Linked DNA regions of Homo sapiens: regions 1, 2, 3, 4 and 5 are each linked to region 6. Evidence: promoter capture Hi-C in 16 types of primary human blood cells and fetal thymus (Javierre and others, 2016). All regions are on one chromosome and are shown on one strand. Each heading gives the region's core, a stretch centred on a gene start or on the middle of the fragment in contact. The rest is flanking DNA. Distances are from core to core; before and after follow the strand shown. Region 1 overlaps CEP162 (centrosomal protein 162). Region 2 overlaps SNAP91 (synaptosome associated protein 91). Region 3 overlaps ME1 (malic enzyme 1). Region 4 has its middle 42 kb from the start of CEP162. Region 5 overlaps CEP162 (centrosomal protein 162). Region 6 holds the start of CYB5R4 (cytochrome b5 reductase 4).

Region 1 (3,692 bases), core at 785-3,284, 290 kb after region 6:
TGGTATTGCAGGCAAAATCTGATGGCAAGCCTTTGGCATGCGTTTCTAGCCTGGAGATGCCAATAAAGGGCCAATCTGAGAATCCTTATTAAAAGTTCCAGCAAAACAGACTTATAAAAGAGCCTATATGATTAATCACTATTCTTGCTGCACTTTTTATGCAAATAACCAAGCCAAGTTTAATGAGACTAGACTTATTTTTGCCATTGGTCTTATTGTGATTATCTCTGATAGAAATGAGGGTGACTGCAGAGAGAAAAATACTGTGCTTCATTAGAAAACTGTAACACACCCTTGTAGATATCAGATTCTAGCCTTGTTTTTTTATCTCTGGGGTTTTGTTATTTACATGTAATCTGGTCTAGATCTCTGTCTATAATTCTCCAAACTAGTATTTCAAATTTTTCTCCTACCCTCCTGCCTTGGAATCACTAAAACATTTAACTGCCCTTTTCCTGAAATCTTAATAAGCTGAAGCTGAATGACTTGATATAAACTGCAGAGAGTCACCACAACAGCTAATATACGGACAATTTTCATGCCTATTGCTGCGTGTCTTATAACTAGACATACTCAAACTGTAAAAAATGCTTTGAGCCCAACATCTAGAACTCTTGACTAGCTGCTCTTAGATTCAGAAATTAGTATACAGACTACTCCTACCATTAACTTTTGTTTTTCTTTTGTTTCCATAGAAATGCCTCTTATTAGATCACCATATAGAGGCCTAACTTTGATGAGAGCTCACCTGCAATATCTCCTGAAATGAGACACAACTGCTTAATTGAATTGACCTATTCTCAGCACTAAGACAATGATTTGATATGGGGCAATGTACTTAAATTTGTTCAGCTGCACTTGTTCCAATCTATGTTTTCCTCTTCCTTTGCCAATCCCTGATCTCACAATCTCTAATCCAAATCTCTTCAAAGCTACCAACTTGGAGAGTTCTAAGCCACCATTTTGAGTTACTTTGTGTTGTGGTTTCTCCTGCATTGTGTGCTGCACGTATTAATAAACTTGTTTTTCTCTTATTAATCTGTCTTTTGTTATGGGGTCTGTCTCAACTAAAAACTCATGAGGGTTGAGGAAAAAATTATTTTTCCTCCCTGACAGTACTTTACTTAACACAGAAATGGACTTCACTATTCAATTTTGTCTCCTGAAGAAAACAAACAGAAAACCCAAACATCTCCCGTCCCATTTTCCCCACTACCCACAAAATCTCAACAGCAAATAAAACATAGACAACTTAATGACTTAATATCTGAACTTCACCTGGGGAAAGCAGATTTTACATAAGCACGCTGCTAATATTTTCTTGACGTGATACTTTCAGGTTATATCTATTTGTACATTTAGGTAAAAAATTTATAAATATGAATATGATTGAAATGCCTAAGAAAAACTTATTTTAGCCCAATATTTTGGCCATTTCTTACCTCTTTCTGTAGAATTTCTTCTCGAACTTCAGAAACTACGAGAGACTCTTGTTTACTCTGCAGCTCATTAACTTGACTTTGGAAATGTCTTATAAGTACCTAGGAAATTGTTAGAAGTGCTGAGTTAATAAAGCTCCTCCTTGAACACTATCTGAAAAATATAAGAAAGCCAACTCACAAAAGGGAACTCTTATATACTGTTGGTGGGAATGTAAGTAAGCACAGCTACTATGGAAAAAAATTATAGAGATTTCTCAAAAAACTAAAAATAGAATTACCGTATTATCTAGCAATCCCACTACTGGGTATCTATCCAAAGGAAAAGAAATTTGTATATCAAACGGACACCTGGCACTTGCATGTTTATTGCAGCACTATTCACAATAGCAAAGATATGGAATCAATCTAAGTTCCCATCAACAGACGAAAAGAAATGTGATATATATACCCAATGGAATACAATTCAGCCTTAAATAAGAGGGAAATAATGTCATACGCAGTTAAATGGATGGAACTGAAGGTCATTATGTTAAGTGAAGTAAGCTAGGCACAGAAAAATACTGCATGTTCTCACTCATGTATGAGAGCTAAAAAACTTGATCTCATGAACACAGAGAATAGAACAATAGATACCAGAGATGGGAGTGGGGGGTTGGGAAGGATGAAGAGAGGTTGGTTATGGGTACAAACATACATACAGTTAGATAGATGAAATAAGTTCTAATGTTTAATAGCAGACCAGGGTGACTGTACTTGGCAACAATATTATGTGTATTTCACGGTAACTAGAAGAGAGAGTTTGAAGTGATACCAAGACATAAAAATGATGAACACTCAAGGTGACAGAAATCCCAATTACCCTGACTTGATTATTACACATTCTTTGCATGTAGCAAACACTCACATGTATCCTATAAATATCTAAATCATTATATATCAATAAAAGGGGGGGAAAATAAATATGAACATTTTTCATGACTAGAAAAAGTCCTTTTAAAATAAAGCTCTATAAAGTCTACACATTTGGAAAAAGGTAGACAATATTATCTTTATACTCTGTGGTTAAGTATGATAGTTTTTATTTAAGAACTATGGCTTAAATATAACATAAGCCTCATAATATCTGTGAAATAAATGTCAGTCTCATATCTTTAGGTAAACTGAAATATATGAACAGATACTTCCATCAAGAAACTAAGAGAAATTGGGAAAAATTTATCTTATCTCTAATGCTGTATTTTTAATGATCAGACTATGCTGATTTCTCTTTAACTCAATTTTACAATATTACATTTATAACGCTGGGAAAATAACATTTATGGCACTATGGCATCATGATACTACTTTTCCTACCTCTTCCAGACTATTCCTTAATACAAAATCACTTGATAGAATGCTTATAGTTGCCCTCTGACACCCTATTCCTATGGAGGATAAGGCCAGAGAGGTTCTCTGTAAGGCTGTATGGATTGTTACTTACGAAAGGCACTTTAAGTATTTTTCATTAACGTAGTCAAATAGTCCTTTTTTTTCTCAGCGATCTGAAGTTAAGTTACAGACTTCATTACATTTTGCCCCTAAATACTTCAAATGCCACTTTGGGAGGTCAAAGTGGGTGGATCACTTGAGGTCAGAAGTTCGAGACCAACCTGGCCAACATGGTGAAACCCCATCTCTACCAAAAATATAAAAATTAGTCAGGCATGGTGGCGTGCACCTGTAATCCCAGCTACTTGGAAGGCTGAGACAGAAGAATCGCTTGAACCTGGGAGGCAGAGGTTGCAGTGAGCTGAGACAGCCTGGGTGACAGAAGGAGACTGTCTCAAAGAAACAAAACCTTCAGATGCTTCAACATACATCTCTTTAGAATAAGGGCATTTCTCACAAAACCATAACATTTTATACCTAAGAAAATTTATAGTAATTTCTTAGTATCTAATAGCCAGTCCATATTCAAACTTCCCGAATTGAGGAATTTATTTTTAATTAAGATGGTATTAAATAATTACACTTGGTGAGATAATTCTTTCTTGATGTTTTTCTCCCTGACCTTCTTTCTTAAAATTGAAGCCTACAGACAAGATGAACACAATAAACATTCATATATTTTTCAACTTGATAACCCAAAAGGTGGCTGATTTGCCACCTTTTTCTTTTTCTTGGATATACCATTTGAAAGTAGATTGTAGATAAAAGTCCTATTTTAATGCTATTTTTATAAGTGACAAACAGTACAGAAGACAGGCCACA
Region 2 (3,646 bases), core at 1,032-3,531, 270 kb before region 6:
CAGGAACATTACAGTCATTCATGAGGCATTTGAGGAATTCCTCCTGGTAACTAACTGAAAAGTTTTAGGGCCCTGGAATAGAGTTAATAGGAAAACCTAAACAACTAATCTTTCTATGTGGTTCTAATTTACATTAAGAAAGACGTTTAGCTGGGTATGGTGGTTCATGCCAGTAATCTCAGCATTTGGGGAGGCTGTGGCAGAAGGATCACTTGAAGCCAGGAGTTTGAGACCAGCTTGGTCAATATAGCGAGACCTCATTTTTATATATCTATCTATATATATCAATATATATAAATTAGCCAGGGGGCATGATGGCATGTGCCTGCAGTCCCAGCTGCTCAGGAGGCTGAAGTGGGAGGATTGCTTTAGCTCATCAGTTCAAGGCTGCAGTGAGCTATGTTCACACCAATGCCCTCCAGCCTATGCAACAGAGGGTGACCTTGTTGCTTAAAAAAAAAAAAAAAAGAAAGGTGCTCTATGGAATGGAATTGGAAACAGAGTAAGGCTTTTGTGCATCCTGTAATCATATTTGAACTGTCCTACACTATAACTGAAGAGCCAACTGTTTTCAGGTACTCAACCATCTGTTGATACACTGCTTTTTAATCACAGATGATTAGTCTTATGAATGTGTTATTCTAAAGGGGAGTAGCCCACACTCTTAATGAAGTTCTATTGATTCAGATATATCAAGTCTGACTGTCATAGTCTACATAGTCTATCTAACACATCATATTGTTTCAGTTGCAGGAGTACAATTTTTTTTTCTTTCTTTTTTTTTTTTTTTTGAGATGGAGTCTCGCTCTGTCACCAGGCTGGAGTGCAATGGCGCCATCTTGGCTCACTGCAATCTCTGCCTCCTGGGTTCAAGCCATTCTCCTGCCTCAGCCTCCCAAGTAGCTGGGATTACAGCGTGTGTCACTACACCCAGCTAATTTTTGTATTTTTAGTAGAGATGGGGTTTCACCATGTTGGCCAGGATGGTCTCGATCTCCTGACCTTGTGATCTGCCCGCCTCGGCCTCACAAAGTGCTGGGATTATATAGGCATGAGCCACCGTGCCCGGCCACAAGAGTGCAATTTTAAAACTACTGCTAAAGACACTTCCACACAGGATGATAGAATTGATCCTCTGTAGACTTTTACCTTTTATAGGAAATTGTTACTTTTTAATGCCACACTGGGCATGTTTGTATTTTAAATTCAGTTCAAGGACTTCTGTGGCTCATTTTAAGCAATTAATGTGGTTAAGAGAACAAATGCAAAACTACAAAGGGCCTCATAGGCTGGACCATATAGTCCCTTGTCTTTGCAATTAAAGATAGGATGTGAAATTCTCTTATACTAGTACAGATTTATAGTGCAGTCACCCTAAAATTGTGTCTATGATGGAAAAACATGGTTGTCCTGCTCGATGCCAACCTCAGATGTTAGGCATATTCCTCAACACACCTAACTTCCTTAACAGTCCATTTTTACCTTTGTCATCCAGTAGTCTGCCTCTAGCTTTCAAACATCTGTATTTTCAGTTGGTATATTTTGAGCAGAGTTTGACAGCTTTACTCTTCACTGTATGAAATATTTACTTTTATTATTTAAAAACTTAACTTTCAAGTTTTCATTCAGATGTTACCTGAGATATGGATAATATCTGTATCCTACCAGTAATCTCAATGGCTTGGAAAGAATTACTCATTGTTGTTATGGATTCTCCCCTCTGCTTCCCCCCACCCCCATTATTCCTTCCTTTCTTCATTATTTTGATAATGATTTTTCTAGTCTGGCCTCTTTGGAAGTTGTCCTCTCCAGAATTTTTTATCATTTCACTATACTGCATGCACCAAACACCTTAAAATTTTTACTCAAGGGGTAGAAGACGACTAAGGCAATATTTCAAGTGCTGTTTAATTCTGGAATTGGTATTATCTGACAGTTCTAAAACTGAATTTGAATAAAGAAGAATAGTTTTTATGATAGATAGGTTCATTTTCAAGACTATCTAGTTAGTCTTTGTTTTCAAGTTTCAAAATGATACCAATTTTTAACAAAGCTTTCGCCTCAATTTTAAAATGGTTCTTAATGTTTAGTTTAAAATCTCTAAAATCATTTTAAAATTTAATTATATCATATATTTATTGCCTTATCTTTATGATTCACATGTAAATGTATTCACTCAAAAAAATCTAATCTTAGGCATGGGGTAAGAGTCCTTAGTCCAGTGACCAAGGTTCCCTTTGAACAGTCTAAACCTCCCATGACAGTGTCTGCATATTATTTTTCTTTTTCATTCTTTCTCAAAACAGTTTTATTACTAAAGGCAATCACAGGATTCTAGAGAATCTTTTTCTCTCTTCTCTCTCTTTGATTCTGATCATATTTGTGGGCTTGCTATGTATGACTAGGCTCATTTATTTATTTTTTTTTAAAAATCTTCTTAGTTTCAATAGACTGTGGACTTAGCTGATCCCTCCCCCAAATAAACACAGACACAACTATAATACAAATGCTAAGCTTCACTGCAAATTACTACACACAGTGCCCCAAATATTTGTCCTACTTAATATGCATTAAATAAAAATGTACGAGAATTGTGAAAACTCAGAAACAGCCAATTGTCAGCTAGGTTACAAATATAAATGTGACTGTGGTTTTATATTGCGTTTATTAGCAGAATTTTTTTCATTTTTTATTTTTTTGTTTTTGGCTAGGAAAGTTGCTCCTAGTTCACAGGATAGAATTATATTAATATTCCATGATGTTCTTTAGTGAGAATATGACTTCCTTATGCTTTGATACTTGAACAAGCGTGAGAAATATTTTTCTATAAGAAAACAGGGAAGTATGAAAAATTAGCCCCCAAAATTAAGCCCTATGGAAATTAAAAGTTAAAATTTCTTATGCTAGCTTATTTTTGTTTTTTGTTTTCAGTAGAGATTAGGGTTTCACCATGTTGGCCAGGCTGGCTCAAACTCCTGACTTCAAGTGATCCTGCCCATCTGGGCCTCCCAAAGTGGTGGGATTATGATTGTGGGACACTGCATCCAACCCCTTATATCAGGATATAAGGTGAAATAATATTTCACATTGTGCCAAATAAATCAGGCACTGACATATGTATACATTAAATTACAAGAACTGTTTTGAAAGCAAATGAGACATTAAACTCATCTATACTGATTTACATTGAATATTAATTTATTTAAATAGAAAAGAGAGAAATAAGAAAGTGTACACAATATATAACTTTGCCTATCACTGAAAGAGTCACAAGAAGATGCAGTAGAAGAAATGGAAAGTGTGTAGTAAATGAGACCTATGTAGATGACATTGGGTACTTTCATTGATGATTTTCTCCTCTTTTCTACCCCATTTTAATAAGATTTCAGAATAGACAACACAATTGAATAATTTTATTTTTTGTAAAGTGAACTAACATACTTTTTTTGTAGACTTCCCCTGCTGGACCTGTCCATATACCAAGCTGTGCAGCTGTGGCACAGGTATGTGCAGTTACACCTGGCAGCAGGTGACAAACCCCTTCAGGCTTGTTCTAGATGTGTTTTTAGATTCTTATTGCATCCCCCAGGGTCAAATCTCTTGGCTCTGTTACTGACTTCTAACTTGGAATTGGATGGGAACACTC
Region 3 (3,667 bases), core at 155-2,654, 440 kb before region 6:
CCAGATTAAGTTTCCTGGCATTTTTTCCTCCAATATGGCCTGGCTTTTTTTTCTCTCTGCTGTAATCAACTGGCCTTGACTCAAAAGCAGCAGAAAAGCTGGAAGTGCAATTGATTGTGTACAAAGACTGCCAAGAGAAGCCTTATCTTTCTGGTCCAAGAATCAGAAAGGGGGTGCTTAAAGGTCAGAGAAGGAAGAACATCCAATATTCTTTTCCACCTCTCTAGTCCCAACTCCCAGGTAATCCCACGGGGATGGCAGAAGCAATAACCACGACAGATGCCTAAAATTCTAAGGTAAGGGAATCATTCTTTTTACCAGAGGATATAGAGCTGGTCTCAAGATCGTAGGTCAAATGCCTGTTGCAACTTTCTCTCTGTCTTCCAATCGTATGGCATCAGATGCAAATAAATCTGGAGGAAGTACACAGCAGGGCAGGAAAACAAAAGCCCAGTTTTCCGGCCATGAGGACTGGAAAGGGGGTCCTCATGGAAACAAAAAATATCAGAGATCACAGAAAGAAGGGAACTCATGAGAGCAATCCCATAAAGTTGTATATTAACTTCTACACTCACTTTTGAGCTAAACGTGCATAGATTTGACCTTAAACAGCATACCAAAGGCTTTGAGAAGTAAACTATAGCATAGACTACTGCACAGATCCCACACTATCCACTGGGCGGTACACATAATGGACAAATACAAACAGTACTACTGAGTAGACTTTGAAAACCAAATTGATATCGGAACCGCAGGCCACAGGTGGGTCCAACTTGCAAAATCACCTAACCAGGTTGAGTGACCACTAAAGCAAAGAAGAACAGTATTCCCCTTAAGATACAACTGACAGCTAGAATCTCATAATATGCAAATGTCCAGAATAGATTAAAAAATCACTCAACATAGAAACAGGAAAACGTTAACTTGGAAAATAAAAGACTAATAAGCAAACACCAATCCTGAGGTGTCAGACCTTGAAATTTCTGTACAATGTACAAAGACTTACAATCAGTTATTATAACCATGCCTAAGAACATAAGGGCAAAGTCTTTCTAAATAAATGGAAAGAAAGTATTGGACAAGAAATAAAAGCTATACCAAATGGAAATTTTAGAACTTAAAAATACAATAATTATAATAAAATATTCATTGGATGGGCTGAAGAACAGAATTGAGATGAGAGTAGAAAGCATCAGTGAACTTAAAGCTGAATCATTAGAAACAAATCAGTTTGGAAAATAAAGAGAAAACAAGTCCTTAAAAAAGTAGGCCTTTTGATACTATCATATAGTCACCTGAGGCTCAGAGCCTCAGGACAATATCAAAAGGCCTAACATTTGTATCATCAGAGTCCCAGAAAGAGAGGAGAAAGAAAAAAATATTTGGAGAAAATAATGGCTGAAAACATATCAAATTTGATAAAAGACATATACTTACAGAATCAGGAAGCTCAGAAAACCCCAAGAAGATAAACCCCAAAACCTCCAAACCCAGAAACATTATATTTAAGATTCTGAAAGTGAAAAATAAAATACCATTAAAACATCCAGAGAAAACTGATGTATTACAAACATATATCAACTTGAATGACTGCAGATTTCTCATCAGGAAAAAGAAAGGGCGGGAGGAAGAGAAATGGCTTTTTTTTTTTTAGGTCTTAAAGGGAAAGAACTGTCAACTCATTATTATATAACTATTGAAAATATCCTTCACAAATGAAGATAAAATAGACATTCTCAGAGGAAGAAAAACTAAGACAATTAGTTTCCAGCAAACCTGCTTTAAAAAAATGTTAGAGGACATTCTTTAAATGGAAGAGAAATGATACCCCAAAACAAACACAGAACATGGGGAATGAAACAGAGTAACAGAAATAGTATCTACCTGGATAACTCTAATAGATTATCCTTTCCCTCTTAAACTCTTTAAAATATGTGTGACAGTTAAAAACAAAAGTTAGGGCCAGGCACAGTGGCTCAAATCTGTAATCCCAGCACTTTGGGAGGCTGAGGTAGGCAGACACCTTGAGCTCAGGAGTTTGACACTAGATGGGGTAACATGATGAAATTGTGTTTCTACAAAAAATATGAAAATTAGCCAGGAGTGGTAGCACATGCCTGTAGTCCCAGATGCTCAGGAAGCTAAGGTGGGAGGATTGCTTGAGCCTTGAGGTCAAGGCTGCAGTGAGCCATGTTACCACTGCCCTCCTGCCTGGATGACAAAGCAAGATTCTGTCTCAAAAAAAAATGAAAAATAAATAAAATAAAAATAAATAAAAGTTACAGGCCACACCTATAATACCAGCACTTTGGAAGGCCACAGTGGGAGGATTTCTTGAGCCCAGGAGTTTCAGACCAGTCTGGGGAACATGGCAAAATGCCATCTCTACAAAAAAATACAAAAATTAGCTAGGCATGATGGTGTGCACCTGAAGTTCCAGCTACTCAAGAGGACGGACTGAGTCTGGGAGGTCAAGGCTGCAGTGAGCTGTGATCACGCCATTGCACTCCAGCCTGGATAACAGAGCAAGACCCTGTCTCAAAAAAAAAAAAAAAGGTATAAACATTACATTAAATTACTATTTTAAAAATATTTGTGTAATACATATATAGAGATATAAGAGGATATAATACATATAACTACAACATAAATAGAGGAAGGTAATGAGATCTATATAATGGTAAGATCTCTATATTTCAATTGAAGTGGTGAAATTTTAACTTTAAGTTGACTGTGAAAAGTTCGGTATGTGTATCATAATCACCAGACCAAGTACTAAAAACAAGCTATACAAAGAAATATTGTCAAAAACTCACAGAATAAATCAAAATGGAATAATAAAAATATTTAAGTAATTAAAAATTAGGTTGGAAAGGAGAAATAGAGGAATGAAAAATAAGGGAACAGACACCTATGATATGATAGAAATCTGTTTATCTCTCTGTGTATCAACAATTACATTAAATGTAAATGGCCTAAACACAAAAATCAAAAGACAGAGATTGTCAAAAATTGGCAATGGCTACAAGCAAACCTGACTGATTAGATCATTACTGCTTCTCACCTACATGTTCCTGTCAAAGTCCAGAAAATGTCTACTAAACAAAGCAAGGGAAAGTGCTGTATTATGAAATTTTGCTTCAATTACAGAAGTATATCATTAGTTTGCTAGGGCTGCCACAACAAAGCGTCACACACTGGGTGGCTTAAACATAAATTTATTTTATCAAAGTTCTGAAGGATAGAAGTCCAAAATCAAGGTGTCTGGAGGGCTGATTTTATTCTATGGCTTCTCTCCTGGACTTACTAGATGGCCATCTTAAGACTCTGAATAGACAATTTAAATGTATTTAAATATATTCTAAGCTTAAAGGGCCAATGCCTAATAGTACAATGGAAGTCTTAGAACTCCTTCAGCCTCTGGATCTCTAAGGTTTTATTCTTTTGTTTTGTTTTGCTTTGTTTTGTTTTTCTGAGACAAGGTCTCAATCTGTCATACAGGCTGGAGTGCAGTGGGTGTGATCATGGCTCACTGTGGCCTCCCACCTCAGCCACTCAAGTAGCTGAGACTACAGGTGCACACCACCATGCCCAGCTTTTTGTATTTTTTTTTCTTTTTTGTAAAGATGGGATTTTGCTATGTTTCCCAGTCTGGTCTTGAACTCCT
Region 4 (3,583 bases), core at 711-3,210, 410 kb after region 6:
GGGTCTCACTATGTTGCCTAGGCTAGTCTTGAACTAAAACTCTTAATATAGATTTTTAAATGTGACTTTTGTGCAACCAATATTGAGAACTATTGGGTCTTTGTATGGACAAATGTGGTCCATTTTCCTGGGGCATGAATTCTACTCAAATATGTAGAAGAAAATGTTAGTTTTATTAAGACAAATTCAGGTATGTTATAGATTTTTTCACTCACAATTTACATAAATTTTAAAGATTAATTCCTAAGACTTCAAAGAAATTTCTTGCTTGTGTTGGCTTTTTTACTGACCAACTTAGTCTCTCTTTGGAAATTCCACAGTAAAGTAACAGTAGTGGAAGTTTTGGGAAGCAGTACTAAAATTAACATCATTCATTGTAGACAGTATAGTCATGAAACAAAGACAAACTTTCGTATTTAATGGCAGAAATGAAAATGGAAAATCATTTAATGAAAAATAGGGACCTTATATCAATATTCACTTAGCAAGTAAATCACTCAAGAGACATGCATACCAGGACATCTTAGGCTCTGGTGATATACAGATCAATTGAATTGCAGAAGCTTGCAGGGTACTAATATGTATTAGGCCATTTTTACATTACTATAAAGAAATACCTGAGACTGGGTAATTTATAAAGAAAATAGGTTTAGTTGGCTCACAGTTCTGCAGGCTGTACAGAAAGCATGATGTTGGCATCTGCTCAGCTTCTGGGGAGGCCTCAGGAAACTTACAATCATGGTGGAGGGTGAAGTGGCAACAGGCACATCACATAGTCAGAGCGGGAGCAAGACAGCCAAGGGGAAGACGCCACACACTTTAAAACAACCAGATCTCGGAAGAACTCACTATGGTGAGAACAATAACATGTGGATGGTGCTAAATTATTCATGAGAACTCTGCCCCCATGATCCAATTAGCTCCCACCAAGCCCCACTTCCAACAATGGGGATTACATTTCAACATGAGTTTTGGGTGGGGACACACATCCAAAGTATATTATAGAAGGAATAGTCATATAGATATAATTATAATGCAATGTGGTCAATGCTGGAAAACAAGGATGTAATGTGTGCCAATGGAGTACAGAGCACTAACCCTGATGATTTTGAAAATTAAGAGTGGGGACTAAAAACTGGCAGAGATGATAACATACATTTGTATAGTACTTTATGGTTTCAATGCATTTTCAGATGAATTTTTTGTTTGATGGTCCCCAGGCACTTTGAGGGAGAGCAGATTACTTCTAACAAATTAGGAAAAATTAGAGATTTGCCCTGTGTCACTTCACTAAGTCCATGCTCTGGTCTTCTATTTTCAAATCCATTATATCATCTTCCATTTATGCTATTTAAATATGACATCACTGGTGTTAGAAAATAGGAGACACTTAATGTTATTTATATTCTTTTTTAAAAAAAGAATAAATGTTAAATTTATTTGGATAGGAACAAAATTTTTTACTTTTTAACACTTTTCATAATACCAGCATGATGCTTCTAACAAAGTGACAAAATTGCTGCTTGACTAATAGATGAAATGATTTTGTCAGTATTGAATACTGATGAAAAAACCTCTGCCAATCAATGCTTAATCTGTCTGATGAATAAAATTTATCTTTCTTTTGAAATATTTAAGGAGTCTTTTTCATGGTTAAAGGTTAAAGCCTGTCTCATTGGTTTCCTTAAAAATATGTTTTTCAACTTGCAGTCTGTGTGTTATTATAACAAATAAAAACATTCTTAAAAGCCCTGGGTAAGCTTTTTCCTTTAGATAAGTGCTATGCTACTAGAACATATGACATCGTATTTGGCCTCAATGTTTGGAAATGAAACGGTAGAAAAATGACAAGCTCTAGTGGCCACGTCATCATAGGGAATAAAATTTAAAACGACTGACGAAGTTTGAGGAAACTGACTATTTTTAAAATTGTACATTTATCATGACAGTTTTGGGGCTAATCTCTGGAACCAGCACAAGGATGAATGAGGTAATATTTGCACATGTTGTGGATAAGATAACCAGAGTGGGGGAAAGTCCATTTCCAGGCTAATGTGCAACTAAGATTATATGCTTGATGGCTGGAAACTGCTGTGTGGTTAGGATAATATAGGTTAAAAAAATGATGCTGATGGAATGGTGAGCAGTTACCCTGGATCTGAAGCTTTCTGAATGGAGGCATGAAAAGAGGAGGCAGGGAAAGAAGTAGGTAGGAGCACACCAAGAGAAAGATTTGGGAAGCAAGAAAATGTGGAGTAAACTACCAAACTCCCTCACAGAAATGACATAGTAAGGGTTGGCAATTAAAACTTCAGTGAAAAGTGAAATCTCATGGTAAACCTAGCTTAATGCTGTTCATGTGTACATTAGAGTATGAAGGGAGATTGTAACACTGATTCCCATTCCTTACTACCCAGATGTTATTACCATCAGAGAAATGTTCAGAGGTCTTATTTGGACCCACTTTGGTTTATTCTGTGGCTTTGAGGAAGGGGAAAGAAAGCATTGTGAGGGACGTGTTGACTGAAATGGGCCATTAATTTCATGTCTCTTTTGTATAAAGCACTTTTAAAGTGTGCCAAGGCATTTTAAGTGTTTTAACAACATGCTTTTGTGACAATAGAGAAGCAAGGGTATTTTTTCATGGTATCAATAAAAATATCATGGTAATTTACAGGGTTGAACTGGACACTAAATTGGCTCACAATGGAGTTCTTTCAATGTGGACAGAGATAGAAGCAACCTTTATTTTATTCCTGAGCCACTGAGATGAGAATAAACATGATCTCTGTTTGTCTCCATGATCTGAAATCTTGTTTGCCAGGGGGGTTGAGTTTTATGGAGGGTCCCCATTTTTGGAACTCTCTTTTCTCTACCCAACAGATCCCAGATTTACAAGCTTTGAGGACTTAGAAGGAAAGAAAAAAGGCATATTTGTTTCTTTCTTAACTGGTGTAGGTTTCCAGATGGTATTAGATGCTGTTATTGGCTGAGAAGAAACACTTGTTTTTGTCTTAGTCTTGTACTTGGGTCTGCAAACTTGGCAAATGGCTCACTTTGAATATCTAAACAAATAAACAAAGCATTTTCAGAATTTGCTGACACTCAGTATCCTATCCTTCTCAAATGTTGCCAGATGCAAACACCAAAGGCCAATTTCTTTAGTTTCTGCTCTGCTCAGAATTTCTTTAGAGAATTACACTGGTGAGAATTTTATATCTGGTTCTTTACATTAATGTGTGTGTGGATACATGATTCCATGGCTGTTCACTGATGAGTTAAGTTGCATCTGGAAACAAGATAGAAGTTTGTGAGTCATGCCTGATGGAGCACTTTCATATTAATATCACATTATGTATGTTTCTACTATTCAAGATATGGCAGCAGCTACTCTGGGATGCAAAGATATTTGAGACCAAGTTTCTGACCTGAAAGTATCCATAACATTATAGAGATACTGATGAATACATATACCACATTTCAAATTTGATGCTCTGAGGGAAAAGTGAGGGAGATAATAAATGGGCTCGGTGGACAGAAGCAAACACGGGCTCTGCAGTCCAGGTAGACATGGGCTCAAATT
Region 5 (3,264 bases), core at 556-3,055, 340 kb after region 6:
AGAATGAAATGCAAGCTGCTGACGGTTAGTGATTTCTGAGTTGGTTAGCGATTTCTATTACTCTTTTTTATCAAGTGTCTGAATTGGTTTAGTTAACCAGTATCCATAGACTGCAAAGCAAGCTGATTAAAAAGTTCCCATTTGCAGCTATTTATGTGATAAAATAAGAATATTTTTATACTATTCAACAAAAACAAAAAACACAAACACATTGGACGGCTGATGGTGATATGAGACCATAACAAATCTCAATAGTTTCTAATTTCAAAAATTCCAAAAGACCATTACTGTCCTCATCTATTTTATGAACAAATGTAACAAACATAAGTTTAAATATTTATCCTGATAAAGTATCATTTTTACCTATGAGAGAGTTCTACATAAGATTTCAACTGGGCCGGGTGTGGTGGCTCACGCCTGCAATCCCAGCACTTTGGGAGGCTGAGGCGGGCGGATCACAAGATCAGGAGATTGAGATCATCCTGGCTAACACGGTGAAACCTTGTCTCTACTAAAAAAATACAAAAAAATTAGCCTGGTGTGGTGGCAAGCGCCTGTAGTCCCAGCTACTTGGGAGGCTGAGACAGAATTGCATGAACCTGGGAGATGGAGCTGGCAGTGAGCCAAGGTAGCGCCACTGCACTCCAGCCAGGGTGACAGAGCAAGACTCCATCTCAAAACAAAACAAAACAAAACAAAAAAATAGATTTCAACTGAAGATGTGCATTCCACTGCTTTAAAAAATTTTGAAAAGGCATTATCTCAAAGACCTTTATAAGCTTTAGGAAAGTCTAGTTGGTCTCAGGTATTTCAGAATTTGGGGATGGGGTGTAGCTTTTTCCTAGAGAAAGAACTATGGAAAAGCACAATAAGACCAAAGTCCCATTTCTCCTACACATGGCAGATTTAACTGAATACTCTGGAGAGGCATAGAAAATTAGTTAACGTTCACCTACAGTGCTACACTATTATCAACAGCATTTATTCATTTATTAACAAATATTTATTTAAAACCTCACTTTACTTGGCCTACTAGCATTGTGTCACCATCAGCAAGTTCCAATTATTTAAATTATTATTATGGTAGAAAAATGTCAGATTTAAAGTTTTCATTATCAATATAGTTATTATATATATATTTCCTTAGAAATGTAGTCATATTAGTCATAAAGCATTCCATATTTAGAGAACAGTCAGGTTTCTAAACATTTTTACCTGTTCCTGTCATTTCATTCTCAGTCATTTCTGGTAGGCACCTTGGCTTAGGTGTTATTTTATCTTGTTCATCAAGATTGACCTCTGCAACAGAGTCTAATGAATCAAGCAGCACAACTGGAAGAATATAAAAGAAAAATATAAGGAATGTAGATAAACTCAGTGGTTCTGTTGATCTAATACAATTATTTTAAACATATGCAATGCAGGCCGGGCGCGGTGGCTCACGCCTGTAATCCCAGCACTTTGGGAGGCCAAGGCGGGCAGATCACGAGGTCAGGAGATCGAGACCATCCTGGCTAACACGGTGAAACCCCGTCTCTATTAAAAATACAAAAAATTAGCCAGGCGTGGTGGCAGGCGCCTGTAGTTCCAGCTACTCAGGAAGCTGAGGCAGGAGAATAGTGAGAACCTGGGAGGTGGAGCTTGCAGTGAGCCAAGATTACACCATTGCACTCCAGCCTGGGCAACAGAGCGAGAGTCTGTCTCACAAACAACAAACAAACAAACAAACAAACAAACAAAATGCAATGCATATTAAAACAAAGATAAATGCTTATATACAAAGAATCTATAAACTTATATATGTATATATGTTACAAGCATGTTTTATCTATGTGTGTGTGTGTGTATGTATATAACAAATATGATCTTCTTCCGATGTAGAAGACAGTAGGCTAACATCAACATACATATCTATGCTTATGAACAGCCTAGTATACATGTACACATGGAAGGCAAAGGGCATAAGAAAAATAACAAAAAAAATCTTAAATATAACAGAATGGATTCAAGATAGAAACACATTATTGAGAAAAGCTAGGAACTTCAATGCCTTAGAAATATTTAAAAACAAACACAGATAGTGACTCATTCAGAATTACTGAGATGAAATTCTGAACAGACTAATTTTTTGCCAACTAAAACATGAATATAAATAATATTTACCATTAGCAAGCATGCCAGTTTTTTCTTCTTCCTAAATTAAAAAAGGAAAATGATGATATGTTTTGAAACCAAAATTATGTAAAATTACCACAATGCAAATAATAGCAAAATCTGAAATCCAGGGCTTTTTATTCCACATTGAAACGATCAGGAACTGTGTTTTCTAGGCTTCTTTCACCACTGACTCTCATTTATCAATAATTCTTCAAGACTAGCTCTGACAGAATGTCTAAAATTCTCTTCTAAAACTTGGCAATTACCAAAATTAATTTAGACCTTAAAAATTCTTGCTTAAAGTATTTAAGTTCCATTTGCTCATCTACCTTGCTCAAGAATTCTCTGGTTTTTTTGAATGTCAAGATAACAGAGCTATTTCACACAAGAGTTCTGCAATTATAGCATTACCAGTCTATTTTCCCTTACTGTTCAAAATTAATGACTAAATCTTGTACTCATTATTTCATCTATGTTTCAAAAGATACAACTTTCAGAAAGACAGGCCACCAAACAGCTAGACAGCTGAAGTTCTTCAATATTAGAGGTTCCCTTAGAATAACTTTTCCTATTAATATCACCTATACCTCCTACTTGGGTAGGCAGTTTGTGGGACCTTCCAATAACAGAGCTTTAATCCCTTCCTATTTTGATTCTTACCCAGACAGTGCTCTGAAGCTTCCACAGTTAGGCTGATACCTTTTTATGCATATGGTACACTTTCTAAATATACCACACTATTATGCCTTGTACTGACCTATTCATTTTTCTTTTCTTTTCTTTCTTTCTTTTTTTTTTTTTTTTTTTTTTTTTTTGAGACAGGGTTGCGCTCTGTTGCCCAGGCTGGAGTGCAGTGGCTCAATCTTGGCTCACTGCAACCTCTGCCCCTGGGGTTCGAGCAATTCTCCTGCCTCAGCCTCCCGAGCAGCTGGGACTACAGGCATGTGCCAACCATGCCCGGCTAATTTTTTGTATTTTTAGTAGAGAAGGGGTTTCATCATGTTGGCCAGGCTGGTGACCTATTCATTTTTCAATAAAATATTGTAATTGCCATATTCCAAGTATAAATCTCATTAAATTTCTAAGGATATTCATCAATCACATTAA
Region 6 (3,418 bases), core at 320-2,819:
ATAGCATCTTCCATTTCTGTACAAAGGGGAGCTAAGAAATTTGGAAAGCATGGAACATTCTTCAACAATATTAACTTTTCCTTGCTCTGGTTCTCTGCTTTTGATATTCTTATGTAAAAGTTTTCTCACGAGAAGTGAAATAAATCTCAGTGATTAGTTTTTCTTGTGTAGACTCTAGAAGAATATGTCATCATTTAATGAGAGAGAACACAGAAGCAATTTGCAAAGTCAAAGTAATACAGTTAATTATAGTCATGAGGTTCTTTTAGCTCAAATTCAGTCTTCTCATAATAAGCATTTCAATTGCAAATAAAAATGGATAGAGGTGAATGTCATAGGTGGCTACCTTATTTGAATGCTTGTATTTGAATGGCCACATATAGTCACACACTTTTTCTTCTGATTCTGCAAACATAACCTTGATTTTTTAGGCACTTTAAGAACTAAGTAGTTAAACAGAGAAAGTTTAAAGCATGACAATATGTTCAGAGTTAGGAAAAATTAGTAATTAAAGGAGGATGGGGAGGATTATTTAGAACTATGTTTCTTCTCCTGAAAACTTTCTCCCTTATTGGATTCTACTCTCAAGATCTATGTGTTCCCCAAGGGACACACAAAACAATCAATCAAACAAACAAAAACCATCAGATTTTGAGCATTAGAGCCTGGTGTTTACCTGCACAGTGTTGGTCCTTTTCCCATTAATATGTTGGAATAGCACAAACAGCCACTGCCACTTATTCAGTACCTAATATTAATCAGGCACTGCAGTATGTAGTTTACACATGATCCTTTAATCTTTAATAAACCCATTATGCAGATGGGGAAAATGAGACTTTGAGATACTAAAGTAACTTGCATAAGACAGCTCAGTCATTAAGTGCAGGGATGGCATGCAAACCAAATCTGACTTTTAAACGTTACTTCATCACCACAGCTGGAGGTGAGCTGCATCAGTACACAATTCCCAGTGAAGACAGGAAGTTACATAAGGAGGGAGAATTTGTGAGTGGGTGAATAGAGCAGAAGGTGACTTTACTAACGTCTTTCGCGCATTCATTAGCCCTCAGCATGCTTAAAGGTGAAGTTTAAGGATGATTAAAGGTGAGGTTTTCTTCTTACCCCACAGTAGTGGCTGTTGACATTTGATATTTTTGCTCTTAAAGGTGTGAGATGCTCTTTGCATTACAGCCTAGTGCCTTACAGGAAAGAATTTCAGAGAAACTAAAATTCGTTTTAGTCCATATTTCAAGTAGTGTGTTTTAGTCCATATTTCAAGTAGTGTGATGGTACTGCTTAACAATGAACAGACATTGCTGTTCCGGGTTAACAGGACTAAGAATTTGTTCCCACATTCGGTCAGCACCAAGGCTAAGGAACAGCTTCACTCTCTAATCTTTCCACGAAATAGCTGTCACCTTGCTCCGGTGCTGAAGTTCGGGATGCGGAACTAGCTGAGCATGCGTACTTCCTCCCTGCCGGCCCTCCCTCCGTCCCGTTGGCTCCGCCCTCCGCGGACGTGCTGCGTCAGAATGCGCCTCACCCCTGGCGACCCCGGAAGTGGGTCGGGGGCTTGGCCTCTGCCCGGCCACAGAGCCGGAGCTGGAGGTGCTGTCCCGTCTGGCGGCGATCCCCGGGCAGGGCCCGGGGCCGGGGTTTGAAGATGCTGAACGTCCCTTCCCAGTCTTTCCCGGCCCCCAGGTCGCAGCAGCGTGTCGCCTCCGGGGGGCGTAGCAAGGTAAGCGGGTGGCTCCGTGAGTCTCTCCCCTCGCTGCGTTTCGAGCTCTGGCAGTGTGTTCTCTTCTTCCGCCCCAACTCCCAGCTCCTGCACCCCTCTCTAAGCTGTCGTTCCCTGCTGTCCTTGCCTGCAACCTCTTTCTGATCCCACTTTGTCTACAGTCCCTAAACTCTCCTTACCTCCTCCCTTTCCCCTAGCAGTCCCTCTTCTTTCTGGTCCTTTATCCCGCTCTATCCGTTCCCTTCCTCCAAGTCCTTTCCCGCGATTTAAATTTATATGACAGAGCCAGGCACTGTGTTTGCGGTATTATAGGCTCTCGGTATTAGCCGCCTTCCCTCAACCTCATCTTCTCCCTGGTCTTTTGTTCTTCACTGCCTGAAGGAGTTGTACCACATCACTCGATGTGGGTTCCCTCGCAGGAGGGAAAGGCTTGGCAGTGGCGACAGTGACCGTCCGTGCAAGGATGGGGACTTCTGGAGTTGGGGAGCTAGGTCAGGTTTACAGACACTATCCAAGACATACTGCCTTTCTTTCTTCCTCTGGTACCTGATTGTTTTGTCATTGCCTTTTCTACTAGTATCACTTGCTAACTTCGAAGCAAATATAATAATACTCTTGAGTTCTTGTTGAGCACAGTTGCTGTTAGCAACAGGTGGAATACTGTACAGATATATTTTATATTTGCAGAATTCAATAAAAATTGTGTTCTTTGTTCTTTTGCGAATGTTGTTTGTTCCTATTTGTTAGTTCCTCATTCTGTAACCATATCTTTATCTTTCGTTTGTGACACTTCCACTTAACTTGGGCCACTCGGTTAACTCTTGAGTCTTAGCATCGTTTGGAACCCTTATCGATTTTCTTATTTTTCTCCACTTAGACCTGGCGTTCTGATTCTAGTTCAGAATGAATATAGGTTCAGGGATCTGTGGTTTTCATTAGCTTTCCAGAGATTTCTTAAGTACTTACGGGTGGCCGTGTATATTCTCAGTGCTTTGCATGTATTAACTTTAATTTTCACAATTATCCTTTGAAGTGAAAGCTTTTATTGTCTCTATTTCGCAGAAAAGGAAACTGGCTAAGAAATATTGCCCTAAATTGCGTAGGCTTGTGTTGTGGTTCTGCTGTGAAATTTCATTTACTGATTCATATATCAATCATCTAGCCATCCAATCATGTATATTTTTCTCATTGGTTTTTGACCTATTTCTTGAAGCTAAATACTTGACTGAATAACAGTCTTTCCAGAAAGAATCTCTGAATTAGAATATGAGTTACTGCCCTTCTTCGTTAAAAATACCAACTGTGTTCTTAGCATCCATTTAAAGGAGAAAACTTAGAAGCAAAGACAAAAAGTCACACAGGGGGCGATGGCAAAGGTGAGTTTTTGGTCCAAAAAGAGAACAAAATAAGATTATTGTGCAATTCTAAGGAAAAGTCAGACTCCAGTCTTCTTCCTCTTTTCTTTGTGAAACAAGATGATGCTGAGAATGTAAAAACTGAGTCAGGTTTGGATGAAATGGGTAGAGGTTGAGAAAATAGAACCAAGTTGGGAAGGTCGTGTATTATACAAAAGGTTCTCAAATAGTGTTGTTTCATTCAACAGCATTTAGTTATAATATTGATGAGAAAAAAAATTCGTTTTGGCCAGGGCCACTGTCTTTGGAGTTTGCATGCTCTGTG

The links. Contacts are between HindIII fragments. The CHiCAGO score rates a contact against its expected background, and 5 or more counts as called.
Region 1: a contact is called between a fragment that was not itself captured here and the fragment with the promoter of CYB5R4 in region 6, in 1 of 17 cell types (M2 macrophages). The highest score is 6.3, in M2 macrophages.
Region 2: a contact is called between a fragment that was not itself captured here and the fragment with the promoter of CYB5R4 in region 6, in 1 of 17 cell types (monocytes). The highest score is 6.4, in monocytes.
Region 3: a fragment that was not itself captured here is called in contact with the fragment with the promoter of CYB5R4 in region 6 in 1 of 17 cell types (monocytes); the score reaches 5.8 in monocytes.
Region 4: a fragment that was not itself captured here is called in contact with the fragment with the promoter of CYB5R4 in region 6 in 1 of 17 cell types (megakaryocytes); the score reaches 7.3 in megakaryocytes.
Region 5: a fragment that was not itself captured here is called in contact with the fragment with the promoter of CYB5R4 in region 6 in 9 of 17 cell types (non-activated CD4 T cells, megakaryocytes, naive CD4 T cells and 6 more); the score reaches 7.1 in non-activated CD4 T cells.

The regions. Positions count from the first base shown.
Region 1 is chr6:84,145,245-84,148,936 of GRCh38, forward strand. CEP162 (centrosomal protein 162) reads right to left here. Exons shown (of 27, transcript NM_014895.4): 25 at 1,443-1,541. It also overlaps a transcript of MRAP2 not described here. Among named protein-coding and RNA genes, the nearest start is that of CEP162, 81 kb to the right of the region's middle. The HindIII fragment of the contact is 6,999 bases long and covers 1-3,692 here.
Region 2 is chr6:83,585,079-83,588,724 of GRCh38, forward strand. All of the region lies in intron 22 of SNAP91 (synaptosome associated protein 91), which reads right to left. Among named protein-coding and RNA genes, the nearest start is that of PRSS35, 74 kb to the left of the region's middle. The HindIII fragment of the contact is 461 bases long and covers 2,052-2,512 here.
Region 3 is chr6:83,421,557-83,425,223 of GRCh38, forward strand. The region is part of intron 1 of ME1 (malic enzyme 1); the gene reads right to left. Among named protein-coding and RNA genes, the nearest start is that of ME1, 7.7 kb to the right of the region's middle. The HindIII fragment of the contact is 3,920 bases long and covers 1-3,364 here.
Region 4 is chr6:84,268,210-84,271,792 of GRCh38, forward strand. No RefSeq gene overlaps it. Among named protein-coding and RNA genes, the nearest start is that of CEP162, 42 kb to the left of the region's middle. The HindIII fragment of the contact is 404 bases long and covers 1,759-2,162 here.
Region 5 is chr6:84,199,574-84,202,837 of GRCh38, forward strand. CEP162 (centrosomal protein 162) reads right to left here. Exons shown (of 27, transcript NM_014895.4): 8 at 2,164-2,194; 9 at 1,216-1,332. Among named protein-coding and RNA genes, the nearest start is that of CEP162, 26 kb to the right of the region's middle. The HindIII fragment of the contact is 2,056 bases long and covers 778-2,833 here.
Region 6 is chr6:83,858,120-83,861,537 of GRCh38, forward strand. It overlaps CYB5R4 (cytochrome b5 reductase 4), which reads left to right and starts at 1,570. Exons shown (of 16, transcript NM_016230.4): 1 at 1,570-1,738. The coding sequence starts at 1,664. All of the region lies in intron 3 of RIPPLY2-CYB5R4 (RIPPLY2-CYB5R4 readthrough), which reads left to right. RefSeq lists a silencer at 1,641-1,690. The HindIII fragment of the contact is 3,476 bases long and covers 1-2,775 here.